Linked DNA regions of Homo sapiens: all the other regions are linked to region 1. The links are contacts of gene promoters, found by promoter capture Hi-C in blood cells and fetal thymus (Javierre and others, 2016). All regions are on one chromosome and are shown on one strand. The core of a region is centred on a gene start or on the middle of the fragment in contact, and the rest is flanking DNA. Distances in the headings are between cores, read along the strand shown. Region 1 holds the start of SLC25A42 (solute carrier family 25 member 42). Region 2 overlaps GATAD2A (GATA zinc finger domain containing 2A). Region 3 overlaps MAU2 (MAU2 sister chromatid cohesion factor).

Evidence for each region. Contacts are between HindIII fragments. The CHiCAGO score rates a contact against its expected background, and 5 or more counts as called.
Region 2: a contact is called between a fragment that was not itself captured here and the fragment with the promoter of SLC25A42 in region 1, in 1 of 17 cell types (fetal thymus). The highest score is 6.3, in fetal thymus.
Region 3: a contact is called between a fragment that was not itself captured here and the fragment with the promoter of SLC25A42 in region 1, in 1 of 17 cell types (erythroblasts). The highest score is 6.9, in erythroblasts.

What each region holds. Positions count from the first base shown.
Region 1 is chr19:19,061,464-19,066,019 of GRCh38, reverse strand. It overlaps SLC25A42 (solute carrier family 25 member 42), which reads right to left and starts at 2,026. Exons shown (of 8, transcript NM_178526.5): 1 at 1,905-2,026. It overlaps LOC124904655 (a long non-coding RNA gene), which reads left to right and starts at 2,495. Exons shown (of 3, transcript XR_007067160.1): 1 at 2,495-2,830; 2 at 3,869-3,976. RefSeq lists silencers at 1,855-2,124, 2,385-2,554. The HindIII fragment of the contact is 7,903 bases long and covers 1,154-4,556 here.
Region 2 is chr19:19,457,474-19,462,029 of GRCh38, reverse strand. All of the region lies in intron 1 of GATAD2A (GATA zinc finger domain containing 2A), which reads right to left. Among named protein-coding and RNA genes, the nearest start is that of MIR640, 25 kb to the right of the region's middle. RefSeq lists enhancers at 880-1,019, 1,350-1,469, 1,780-1,999, 1,896-2,190. The HindIII fragment of the contact is 878 bases long and covers 2,327-3,204 here.
Region 3 is chr19:19,352,281-19,356,836 of GRCh38, reverse strand. MAU2 (MAU2 sister chromatid cohesion factor) reads right to left here. Exons shown (of 19, transcript NM_015329.4): 17 at 2,392-2,482; 18 at 1,446-1,573; 19 at 1-1,129. The coding sequence ends at 1,055. Among named protein-coding and RNA genes, the nearest start is that of MAU2, 34 kb to the right of the region's middle. The HindIII fragment of the contact is 5,642 bases long and covers 1-4,556 here.

The DNA of each region.
Region 1 (4,556 bases), core at 777-3,276:
CTGGGTGTGGTGGCACATGCCTGTAATCCCAGCTACTCAGGAGGCTGAGGTAGGAGAACTGCATGAACCCAGGAGGCAGAGGTTGCCGTGAGCCGAGATCACACCACTGCACTCCAGCCTGGGCAACAGAGCAAGACTCCGTCTCAAAAAAAACCCAAAAACTATATACTCAATGATCTTGCCAAAGTTTATACACATGTACATATATAACACACACGAAATATGTATATATAAAATATGTATATAAACATATGAATATTATAGGTACATGTACATATGTGTACAACACACACACATATACATACATATATACATACATGCCCATATATGTTTTAAATGACTCCTATTGAAGTTGGACAGAAAACCCAAATGGCTTCAGTTTCCACAGGAGAAGCTGAAGGTGACATGACCCTCTGAAACATTCTGGTACCGTCTTTGCAGGGAGCGGTGGGAGGGGGTAAGAAACGCTCCAGGAGCCTTACAGGAAATGGCACGTTATTGCTTTTCAACAACAAAGCCACTGTCCTCCTTCTATGCTGCATGCTTGCAAATCAGACTCAAGGGAACTAAAAAATTCCAGAAGAATCATTCCTAGCACCACCCAGGCTCGTTTTGCAGGTTAGCTTTAAACAGCTGAAACATTAGTTTGCCTCACTCTAAAGAGTGTTTCCTTACTCTTTATCGGCTTCAAGGGCCCAGGGAGTGTCGGAGAGGGGTCCCGGGTCTGCAAGAGCTGGGAGCCCCGGCCCCGGCAACCCCCTCTCCGGCATCCTGCAGGAGGCACCCAAGATGATGAGCCCCCCTCCTCCGGCAGCGTCTCCACCGCCAGCCTGCCCCAGGACTCCGAGACACACGCTTGGCAGAGGGGCCGTCCCTTCCAGCTAAGCCTTTCCGGACCCAGTCAAAGTCACGACTCCTGCCAATCCCTCTGAGATAAACATAACAGATGGGCCCAAACGCGGTGGGTCCACAGCAGAGGGTCAGCGATGCCCAGGGTAGAATAGGCTCTGCCTCTAGCATTCAAGTGGTTTAGGTCTGTGGCTGGTAAAATGGAGATGATTCCGGTTTGGTCTGACAGATGGGATTATTCTAAGGTCCGGAAATCACTTTATAGACTGTCAAGCACTGTTAGAAATGAACACTGGGGTAAGCTTTTGTTTGGGGAGGGGAGGGTGCAGCGATCCTGAGATACCAAGGCTTGGGGGACTATTGGAGGACCTGGGGGATTCGGGGGGATTATTACAGAGGGTGTGCGAACACAGGTGCACGTGGAAGAAAGCCCAAGGTGGGAGAGAGAAAAGGGGGAGACAGAGGTGTGGGGCTGCCAGGGCAGAGGGCAGGTGCCAGGGGGAAGGTCCCTGAGAAGAGAGACACAGGTTGCTGGGGGAGTGGGCACGAGAGTAGCGAGCAGATACCTGGATATGAGGAAAGGCAGTGGGGGACGGGACTAGGTCCAGGTGTGAGTTGCGAGGCCATGAGTTAGGAGTCACAGGCTCAGGTGTGGGTGTGGGGGTGTCATCGACAAGGACAGACTCAGGTGATGTGGGGGGTGTTCGTGAGTGGGGGCGGGTGTTCGTGAGTGGGGGCGCGGTGTCAGGTGTGTGAGGGGGATGTCAGACCCAGCTGTGCGGGGCGCCGGGGACAAGGCCCCAGGGGTGTGGGAGATGTCAGCAAGGACAGTCTAAAGTGTATGGGGGATGTCAACGAAAAGGGACGTGGTGTCAGGCGTGCGTGGACTGCGGGTGACGGGCTCAAACCTGGATGCAGTAGCCCCCAGGGGGCAGTAGACGTGGAGTGTGGGGTTGGGGGGGGTCTTTAACCTCTTCCTGCCCTCGCGACGCTACTGTCATGCCCCGCCTCATCCGCCCCTCGCCCCGGGATCCATGACAGGACCCGTGCCTCACCTCAGTTCAGCCCGACAGGCGCGGGCCGCTGACGCTTGGGCCCCCCCGGCGCCCCCCGCGCCCCCTCACCGGCCCGGACGCGTCGCCGCCGCCGCTACCTCCAGCCGCCACGGCCCCGCCTCGCGCACCCCCAGAGCGCGCCACGGGAGGGGTCCACGCCACGCCCCGATTGGCTGCTCCCTGGCCAGTCAGCGCTGGAAGCGACAGTGATTGGCGAGTATGAAGCAGATGGGCAGCCCCTAAAGCCAATCGCTGATTGGCAGAGGTGGGGCTATTGGGAGAGGCCTGGGGTGCCTGAGTGGTCCCTCAGGGTGCTAGGCGCTGGGAGGCGAGGGCCTGGAGGCAGGCGAGGATTGGAATCTTGGCAGAAAACAGGCAGAACTGTCGGCCAATCGCTGGGGGCCAGGGGCGGGGCTACGAAGAAACTGGCGCTACCGGTGGGGCAGAGGCGAGAGGAACGGAGGGCGTAGCTTGGGGGGAGACCGGGATTGGCCGCAAAGCCGAAGACTGGCAGGCCCCGCGGCCAGTCGCAGCGGCCGTGGGCGGTACGCCCCCAGGGGAGGGCTGGAGCGTTCAAGGTGCAGTCCGACCCGGAGCGCGGCAACCCGACGTGGCCTCGGACGCCTGGCGCAGGGTCCCCTGAGGCTCTCGTGTAGAGCCCGCCCTCTGGCCACCTAGCACAGAAGCGGATGTGAACTTGGACCATCAAGGCTGAAGGACTCCTGGATAATTCTCTATCCCCTTACTCCCCACTAATCCCCTGCAGACGACACGGAGAGGGCAGATTCGCTGGAGGTCACTCTGAACTGCCCTCTCCATCTCGAGGTGGTGTGAAGACATGGAAATAAGGGGCGGAATCCTACTGAAACGCGCTGCGTGGTTTTCTGAGTGTCTGACCTCTCTGCGTCCCAGCTTTCCCCGCCACGGTATCCAGTGACATCCCTGTTGGGCCTTCTCCCTGCCAAGTCTTTTTTTGAATTAACTGAATCTTAACCACAATCCCATGAGGTCAGAGAGACCACTGGCTCCTTTTACAGAAACCAGAGCACAGAGAGGTCAAGCTCCTTGCCCAAGGTTACACAGCATTCTCTGGTTGCTAAACCAGAGAATGAATCTAGAGCAGCCTGCTTTTTGGAAAGAGTGTGTCAGAGAAGAGCCACTGGGGGCCTCAGAGACCTGGGTTTGAATCCTTGTCCAATCACTGGCCCACCACACAACCTTGGGCAAAAGCCCTTGTGAGCCTCAGCTGTTTCATTTGGAAAAGAGGGGGGAAAATGATTCCTATGCCTTGATCTTTCCTCTCTGGGGTTGCTTCCCTGGGAAAATTTACAACTCAGCTCTCATTTTAATTATCTGGTGAAAGCATTTGACCCTGAGCAGGTCATGTGCGGCCTGTGAGCCTCAGCTCCTCTGTGAAGTGCAGAAAAATGCCGGCAGTTTAGGGAGACACCTGCCATCCCAGGCATGGCTGTGTCATCGGCACCTCCCCCGAAGCCACTCTGTTCTATGACTCACCCTTCATCTTCAGGATGGAGAGGGCTACAAATGTTTCCAGATACCAGCTCTTATTTCCTCTAGGTGCTGGCCAGGGTTGGTGGAGATCAAGTTCAGAACCAGGGAATCCTGGGAGGGAGCAAGGCTGAAACCAACCTTAGAAAGGGCTCACATTTCAGGGCTGCACAAGCCCCTGCTAAGTGTGTGATCCACAAGTTTCAAATGGGGAGGATGTGACGGGAAATCACTAGCCCAAGGCCATCATCAAACTCCTGATATTCTCACGATATGCCTACCTGGACCTCCTCTCCCATACCTCCCACCTGTGGTTTGCTTCCTGGCAACTTCCAGGATCTGGCCTCCATTCTGCCCTCCAGAGAAGAGGGGGAAGCTGAGGTCAGTTGAACATCAATTGGGTGCCAGGTCCCCACTGGGCTTTCTCCAATACCATCTCCCCACCTCACTTCCAGGTGGACGTGACAGTGCCCACTTAGCAGATAAGAAAACTGAGCCTATGGTGGAGAATATTCCTTGGTGGAAGGACCCAGGGCTGAGTTTGAATCCCTGCTCTTTTTAACGTAAGTAATGGCCAGTAACAGCCACAGGACCTTCAGCAAATAACACAAGCTCCCCACTTCAGTTTCCCGGCTGTCTCCTAGGGCTGATGTGAGCATTGATGAAATGGAAGCAAAACACTTACAATGGCTTCGTCCACAGTAAGCACTCATGGAAGGCTGGTGATGATATATTGTTCTTCTCTGGGCCTGTTTCCCTCTCTGTAAATAGCGCTTCATGGACACAGACCAACTATGGGCGTGGCTTGCCACACCAAGAGGGAGATATCTACGCCGAGGAGCGCCCACTCCCAGTGCCCACCTGCCAGGCCCTGGGAGGGGGAGGTAACAAAGCTCCTGGAAGGTCCCACAGTGCCTCCAGGGACAGAGCCAACTAAGGCAAAGGTCAGGCTCTGGCCCAGCCTGGGGCTGCCTCTCTAGCTTCTGCTCGTTCTTTAGCAGGCTGGCGCCAGCCAACCTCCCTACCGCCTTCCAGCAATGGCAGGCAAAGCACCTTGGCAATAGCAATGGACACCCCCACCATGGGCACTCATGTAAGCCCAGCTAGGGTGCCCAGGATCTCGGCTCTTCTGCTTTGGCTGGC
Region 2 (4,556 bases), core at 1,516-4,015, 400 kb before region 1:
ACAGGGGAGAGTGAGGGGAAGGCAGCTCCGGTGGCGGAAGTTCCAGGCAAGGGTTGTGCGGGAGCTGCCAGTGCATGGAGAGTAGCCCCGTCCTGGGGGCTGAGATCCTCTGCCGGCTGCTGCCTGCACAGACAGATCCCAACAGCAGTGTGCCCATTTGAAAGAGGAGAGCACTGAGGCTGCCAGGGCTGCCTGAGACACAAGGTTGAAGGTCAGCCTCACCCTCCTCCTCACTCTCTCCAAACACCCCAGGCCGGACTGCAAGCCAGCACAGATGAGCAGCACCAGCAAGGCTGAGTGGGCATCGGTCTCCTCTGATACGTCCCGCACACACTGGGCTGGCAGGTGGTGGGGGCGTAGCCCAGCTCTTCCTCAACTAGGGGCCAAAAAGGACAGGTTCCAGCCACACTAGAGACCCCACACAGGTACAGCGCAGCTCTGACCGGGAGCACCTCCATGGGCTTTAGGGCAGATAGGAATGCTGCTTTATTTTCGTAAAATGCCACCATCCAACTGGCCTGAGAGCCTCAGGCAGAAAACATGTTCTAGAACAATTCCAAAAGGCTGACTGATGCTGTGGCAGGAACCAGAACTCTTAAAGAGGACTTGGGGGACAAACAGAAGGCACCCAGCACACTTCTGGCACACCAGGCCAGTACGCATCTCTTGATAATTAAAAGAGAAATTAAGTACATGACACAAATCATAAAACCAAACCCCTGAGATCACAATGCTAATACTAACTCTACCATAAAATGCCATCTGTGGCACCCATCACTAACATACCCATAGTAACACCCTTATTTCAGACAGGAAGAAAGTGAGGCTTCGCAGTAAGTGGGTTAAAGCACTGGCGGGAGCAGCAGGGCTGATGCTCTTAACGGTGGATTTTAGGCGTCTTTCTGCCTCCTCACCCGACAGCAGCTCACCGAGCCTCCACTGTGGGCTGGGGACTCAGTGGTGAACAAGACAGAGGGAACACCATCCACCCCCATGCTGGAAAACGAGCGAAATGACAGAGGGTGTTGGTGACGGTGCTGTGGGGACACGAGGCAGAGCACGGGGCAGTCAGAGCACACAGAGGGACGGGGGCTGGGTGGAACGGGCGGCACCGGAAGCCAGCCCTGAAGGAGACAGGGCCTGAGCGGAGACATGTGCTGGGGGAAGCACTGGCCCAGGCCGGAGGGGAGGAATCTGGCTTGCTCTAAAGGATCACCTGGCTGGAGGACTGCAGGGCAGGGGAGCGGTTCCTATGGTGCAGCTACACTGGGGAAGGGGACAGAGCAGAGGGGAGTTGGGGCACTCCGGAGGGGGTTGCTTTCTTTCACTTGTTTTTGCCTGAGCAACTGGACCAGTGGGGCTGGCTTTTCTGAGATGGGGAGGAGCAGATTTGAGGAAGGAAGGTTGGGCTACAGTTCGGATGTGCTGAGTGCGAGGCCCACGATGAGCCCCACGGAGATGCTGAGGAGCAGAGCCCTGAACCTGGGGGCAGCCACTGTCCTCAGGAGGCACAGGGCACCTCAGGGCACCTCTTCCTATCAGGAAGGAAGAAGGGCCCATGAAGCAACCAGTGCTGAGTCAGATGATGACAACGGGGTCCAGGTGCTAGCCTCGCTAGCTGTGAGCTGCGCCCAACACTCAAGACACAAGGACCCTGTAGGCACACAGCTGCAGCAAGCCTGCGCCCAGGTGCCCACCTCCAGAGCGCCCCTGTGGCCCTGCCCTTCACACAGATTGATGCACAGCACAGATGGGCCTCTGGACCCAGAACCCCTGTCTACTCTCCTCCCGGCAGCATAGCCCGAGGAAGCTCCCAAAGCCACATCCTGGATCTGTACCCCCTTCAGTGGCTCTCCCACTTCCTAAGAGTCAAACCAGGGTACCTTGTTGTGGCCCAGAAGGACCTGTTGAGGGGGTAAGGAGAGAATAGGTGGGCCAAGTTTTGGCATTGGCAGAGCCTGCCTGACAAGCATACTTCTTTCCCATGCAGAACAGACACCTCCATCTGCTCAGAACTGTGGCCCGAGCCACTTCCTGACGCACATCTCTGAGTAACAGTGACTAGGACTCATTCCGGAAGGAAGCCACACCGGAAACAGCAGCTCTGGACTTCTCAATGTCAAACTTCATTAAGGCCAAGTACGAGAGATACAACTTAACTTGAGAGACAGAAAGGTGTTCCAAGCAGTCAGCTCCTACAACTAGACACAGCAGGGAACAGAGACTTGGTCTCAGCTCCATCACACACACGCTGGCTGGCCATGGGCCAGGGGAGAGGTCTGTCAATCAACCACAGGACCAAGGACACAAGATGGACACAGAAGCTTCAGTGGGCCAAGAGAGGATGCCACTGCCCCTTCTTCCACAGTGTTTATCAAAGATGTCCATGCAGCTTAAATTATCTACCCTCTGTGCCACATGCTAGATAGAGACTCTCAAATTCTAAACAGTCAACCCAAACTTTTTTCTTTAAGAACAAGGTCTCACTATGTTGCCCAGGCTGGACTCAAAACACCTGGGCTCAAGTGATGCTTGAGCTGAGCCTCAGTTTTCCCATCCCTACTTCACAGACAATGCTATGTGAAGAAAAATGGAAAGAACTGTGGGAGAAAAGTTGCAGAATAGCATAGTACCATTTACATGGTTTAAAAAAAAAAAAAAGGTGTATATAGGGAAAAAACTGAAAGTAACTTCACTAAAATCAAAACTGAAAGGAACTGGACCAAAATCAGTGGTAGTAATCTCTGAAGAGTAGATTATTAAGAAACTTTCACTTACTATAGTAAACATTTCTGTATTGCTTGAATTCTTTAACAGTGACTATGAATCAGTCCTGTATTCAAAGAAAGCAAGGATTAAAAAAGAAAACCAGATAAAACAACAGCCCCACCTGCTAAGGATGAGAATCAAAAGCACAAGTGTGAAGCCAGGCACAGTGGCACATGCCTGTAGTCCCAGCTACTCAGGAGACCAAGGCAGGAGCATCACTTGAGCCCAGGTGTATGAGTCCAGGCTGGGCAACATAGTGAGGCCATGTTTCTTAAAGAAAAAAGGAAAGAAAGAAACTAACAAAGAAAGACAGTACCTCATCCAGGCGAGGAGGAAGGAGGCTCCCTAGGGTGAGAAGCTCTGGAGAGAGGGGGAAGCTGGCTCCTCCAATACTCCAACGCATAGGACTAAGGACACAAGATGGACACAGAAGCTTCAGTGGGCCGAGAGAGGATACCACTGCCCATTCTTCCAGTGTTTATCGAAGATGTCCACGCAGCTTAAATCATCTACCTTCTGTGCCATATGCTAGAGACTCTCAAATTCTAAACAGTCAACCCAAACCCCCCAGCTCATTCCCACAGCCCGCCTTCTATATAGGCCACAAGCCTCCCTGAGTGGCCACAACCACCAGGCCACAGCGTACCTCACCAGAGCCCTGGCAACAATCTCCGTGCCACTCAGGAGCTTCATCTCTCACTGCAACTCAATGTTAAGCTCTCAATGGCAGAAACTTTTTTTCACCATTCATCTTCATTTTCAGTGTAGAGCAAACAGTATGGGCTTGGTATGCACTGCTGAGTTACGCCTACGTTTCTGTAAATTAGACTCATGAAGCATGTGATTCCCAGGGTTGCCCTACAGGGCAAAGAGGAGCAAACAAGTAAAGTGCTTTCATTTAAAACTCCAAGACATGGGGACTGAGATGGCGTCTCCCAGACTGAGGCCAGGGCAGGAAAAGGAATTAGGCGAGACGTTCCAGGCAGGGGAACAGCATGCGCCAAGCAGCTGAGCAGGGAGGGTTTCAGGCCAAGGAAGGGAAAGCCGTGGTGAGTCCTGAACTACAGGCTTTCTCAAAAGGAGAACAGATGTCTACTACTCACTGGCTGACGCTGGGTTCTTAACCCTTGGTGGCCTGAAAAGTAAAGACACACCAGAGATACAGACATCTTCTCTCTCTCATGTTATCAGGATGGACCCCAGCCTAGTCAGCTGGCTAGGAGCTCCCTGAGCCTTCAAAGACCCCAAACTGAGAGATCGTCTCCCTGCAGTGGTCCTAGGATAAGACCAGCAGTGGGGAGGTGCAAGCTGGCTGGAGCCAACTACCTCTCACTGAGAGCCTGCATGAGTTGGAGACGGGCATGTGTCATCCCACAAGGTACAGGCACAACTGAAGTCTGGCTGGGTGAAAGTCCAGGCTAGGTCTGAACTCAGGCTACCATGCCTCTGTCTAGGTGGCCACTCTGATAAGCCTTCCACAGTGTGCAAGGGGCCTTTTGTTAATCTTTTTTTTTTTTTTTGAGACACAGTCTCAGTCTGTTGCCCAGGCTGGAGTGCAGTGGCATGATCTCGGCTCACTGCAAGCTCCGCCTCCCGGGTTCACACCATTCTCCTGCCTCAGCCTCCCCAGCAGCTGGGACTACAGGCGCCCATCACCACGCCCGGCTAATTTTTTGTATTTTTTAGTAGAGACAGGGTTTCACCGTGTTAGCCAGGATGGTCTCGATCTCCTGACCTCGTGATCCGCCCGCCTCGGCCTCCCAAAGTGCTAGGATTACAGGCGTGAG
Region 3 (4,556 bases), core at 586-3,085, 290 kb before region 1:
CAAACGCTGCTGTCTGGGCCCAGCGGAGGCTCCCTGGGGCCTGGCTAGGGTGCGGGTTTCACACTGTGCCCCAGAGACCCAGCAGGGAAGGTGAGGCGGTGGAGGGAGTGGGGGGACCAAGAGGCTGAGCAGGGAAGGCCACAGATCTGCCAGGAAGAAAGTCCCTGGGCTCCAGATCTCGGGGGCGGGGGGCCCGTGCCACGCACTCTAAGCTAGCTGAGGAGGTGATCTTAAATTTAGGAGACGAGCCCACTCCCCCGCTTCCTGCCCCTCAGCAGCCACAAGATGGGGGAAGGTGGCTGGTGCAACAGGAGCCTCAGCTCCCAGCTCCATCTCCACAGATCTTCACCGCACACCCGTGTGCATCCACATGCACACCCGTGTTTACAATCACCTGCACCCCCACGGCGGGATGGCGAGTCCGGTCAAGGTGCAGATGTTTGGAAGCTGAGTTCCTGGGTCCCTGAGGGTTCCTGACCAGAGGCCCCAGCTGCTGCAGGGACTGATGCTGGAGAGAAAGCTGGGAAAAGTGCTGGGATCTGTGCTTCGTCCCACACTAGCGCCATTACTTCTTCCCTCCAAATTCAGGCCAGAAACTGGCATCCGGGCTCTGGAAATTGCCTTGAGCAGAGGAAACACTCTACTCCCGCTCGGCATCAAGGCCTGGGTGATGGAGAGTCAGGCGTGGTGCCCCTGGGGCACTGCCTGCCCTGGCACACAGGATTAGGACCTGCTGGAGGCCTGCACCCTACTCCTGGCCGACGTGACCCAGATGCTGAGGCAGGACTGGCACTGAGGTCCACTCTGAAGGATGGCTCTGGAGAGACAGCGCCTGTGTGCCACCTGTGAGCCTCTGCACTGGGGGTCCTGCTGCGAGGTGGGAACGGCTACCACCCCTCCTGGGAGGGCAGGGACTGGCCCCGCACATTCCCAGGACTTGGAAGCTCTAGAGACAATCAGGAAGGAAGCACGCCTCGGGGGCAGGCTTGAGTGCCGTCTGGGTGGAAGCCGGAGACGCGCAGGCCCTGCGGAGCTGGATGGCCCCATCAAGGCCTCACAGGAGGCTGGCCAGGCTGGTGTTGGGTCCATTCTGAGCTTGGAACTGCACGGGGGGTGGACCGTCTGTCCACTGTGGGGAGGAGAGGACATGCGAGTGAGGCACTGTGGACCGTTCCCAGGGAAGAAGAGGTTGGAATGCTGCCTTCCTTGGGCTGCTCACACAGCCGGGACTCTGTTCTCCATGCCCCAGTCCAATGGGCCCCGAGGAGACACCTGGGTCCCTTGCTTGGGTGGGGGTGCCCATGGCCATCTCCCCCATCAAGGGATCACCTGAGGCTGAGTTAGGGTTTGTTGGACAAAAGAGAAATACAGCCAAGGTGCCCCTTCCTCTTGCAGGTGGGGAGCCCGCTAGTCCTGATCCCGTCCCCTAACACCCACACCCGTACCGTGATGAGGTTGTGTTCGGGGAGGCTGCAGGCCTCAATGTGGTCCTGGAGCAGCTGCTGCGAGAAGTTCTGGTGCATCTGGGCGGCTTCATGGGCATCCATGGCGTTCCCACAGGCTTTATTCAGGTCTGAGAGTGGGACATGAGCATGGGGGCCCGCCTTGCCCTGTCACTGCCCAGGCCCTCCCACTCGGTGCAGATGGAGCCCTAAGGTCAAGTCCCAGCTGCACTGGTGGATCTCTGGGTGCCTGGCACGTCACTGGACCTGAGCCCTGTCTTGGGATCACAAAGCCCATGCGCCAGCCGCCCTCATAGGGCAGAACAGGGCTGGCTGGGCAGTGAAAGCCCAATGCCAGGCTTCTCGCCAGCCCTCCAGGGAGCCCATGGCCAGCCCTCAGGCAAACAGGCGCTCATTGGGGCAGGACGCCCAATGCCCATCCTGAGGCAGCAGCCCCAGGCAGCCCACTGCACATGGAGCACCCCGTCTCCTGTCACCTCCCCAGGGCCCCAGGCGAGTCTCCGGACCTTAGTTTCGTAATCTGGAAATGGGGGAGCTGCGGTAACAGCAATGATACCCGCTGAGTGCCCGCCCTGCTCCCAGAGCTAGCTGGCCAGCCCTACCCAATAGGTATGGCTGCTGTCTGCCTTTCCGGGAAGAAGCAAGGCTGAGAGCGCCACGGCTAACAGCCCAAGTCTACCAGATACCAAGTCGCAGCCTCTGTGTCCTATAGAGACTGAACCAGACCCCGAGTCAAGCGGATGCCACAAATGCACCCACTGCCCTCAACCAGGGTCTCCTGAGGAGCACCCCCTACCCATGCTAGAACTGGGGCTGCGGCCCACGGAGGCCTAGTCCGAGCTAAGGCTGAGCAGGACATGCCCAGCAGCCTTGATCTCTGGGGAGGGCCAGGCTGGGGCTGGGGAAGAGGGGTGGCCATTGCACTCACCTCTCAGCAGTGCTGACGACCACAGCTGTACCGACATGTCCGGGATCTTGCTGGCGAGCTGCATGGCAGGCACCACCATGTTGTTACTCTCCTGTCAACCAAGAGCAGCAAGGGGGAGTGAGGAGCCTGGACCCCACTTGCCGAACCCAGCCCAGGTTGGGGTGGGGATAATCTGGAACCCACCTACTGAACCCAGCCCAGGTTGTGACCTCCTTCTGCGTCTGGTGAACTCCTATGCTTACCTCAGAGCCCATCTCAAATGGCCCTCTCTGAAGTATCACTGAAAAACAAACTGCCCTCACTTCTGGCTCATGCCCTCACAGGGGCATGGCCAATGGACAACTTTGGGGGCTTCTACCTGTTCAAGCAGAGAAAAAGCACTGATGGCCGTTAGCCCTAGACCCACAATGGGGGCTGATCAGAAATGCAGATTCATATAGGGTTCCAGGTTTCAGGTTCTGAGAAGGGCAGCAGCCCCTCCGGTTTGTCTTCCACAATTGAGTTGGCTCTCATGGGAGGCCCCCGCAGACACGCAGGGGCTCTGGGGGCACCAGCATGTAAGAATCCTCCAATCCGGACTCCCTGCTTTGTGACTGCACAGGGCCACCCCAGTTGCAGCCCTAGCATCCTCAGGATGTGGCAGGAAGAGCTCAGTAAGAGCCATCAGGGCCCATAAATGCCCATCCCTGTTGCTATGGCAAGGGCCTGGAGACGGCAGACAGGAGCCTGTGCTACACAGGCGACCAGCAGTGCTGGACTGACCCTGTCTGGACCGAGGACTCAAAGCCCTGTAAGCCTGGATGTGGGGTTCAGGTAAGACCTGGAAAATTCCCTAGATGATGGCTCCTGGCAGCCCAGGGAGCACTTGGGAAGCCAAGATGGACACATCCCCAAAACCAACTCCTGAGACCTGGCTTTGACGCCACCAGATACTTCTCCAGAGTGCAGAGATGCTCCTCCTGAGACACAAAGCCCAACAACTCTACACTGCCCTGTAGCTGCACCTTGAAAGTGAGCTCCAGGTGGGTCTTGGAGCTTTTTAAAATTCACCAAGCCCTTTTGAAACCTCAGAGCAAGAAAAACTGCTCTCTTCCGCTAGGCCTGGCTTATTGTGAGCCTGGCTGGGCTCCCTGTAGAAAGCCAAGGACCTCTGTCTGAAAGCAGCCTGGGGAAGGAGAGTCCTCCTTCAGCGCTCCTGGGTAGGTTCCCCCAATGCCAGCTTGGGGTACCCCACAGAATCTGGTTTTGAAGACTTGAGTGATCCTGGGGGGTGTCCCGCTCTTGTGGACACTCTAGCCTAACAGGCTCAGGACAGGGCATCCCAAGCTCTTCTGGGCCCCTGGACCCTCACCTGAGCCCATTGTGGCCATTCAGCCGTCTGCTCCGGCACTTGTGCTCTGACTGCTGTGGTGCCCATCTCTGTGGCAGCCCCTGCCTAGCCAACCTTGCCCTGCCTGCACCAACACTATCCCGGCCCCCAAGGCTGCCACCTTTCTGGATGTCCCCAGCCTGACCTCACAGGACTGGCTTGGCTGTGTCTGGCTGTGTCTCCCCGAGATCTGGAGTCACTTAAGGCCAGGACCTTGGTCTGAGAGTTCTTGGGCGCCGCTTGTCACCCGACAAGGGCCCAGGGACACAGGGAGCAGAGGGGGATTCCCAAAAGAGCTCTGTAAGATGCCCCCACAACACCTAAAACATGGGCCAGGAGCAGCAGTGAACCAGCTGCTCAACCCTCCTTGCCCTGCTCCAGGCAGCTTCCAGGGGTTTCTACACAAATCAGAGCCAGTGAGGTCTGGGTTCCAGTCCTGATTCTGCGGTCTGGGGCTGTGTGACTTTAACCTCCCCATCTGACACACCCCCAGGCCACTTGCACTGTCCAGTGGGGACATACAGCCCTCACTGTGCTCAGAGGCTGAGGGCAGGGTGATAGCACATTCTAGAAGGAGCCAGCTACAGGTTTTGACGGGGTAGTGGCATCCCCAGTGCTGAGGCCAAGGCCCACCAGGGCCTGAGCTGCAGGGCCCATTCGCTGGCCTCTGCAAAGGCTTACCACACAGTTATGTGTCTGTGTGTTGCGGTGGGCGGGCACCACGTTTGTTAACAGCATCCATGCTGAGGGAGCCCTCAGATCACGTGAAACTTTACAGGCCAAGACACACATCTTG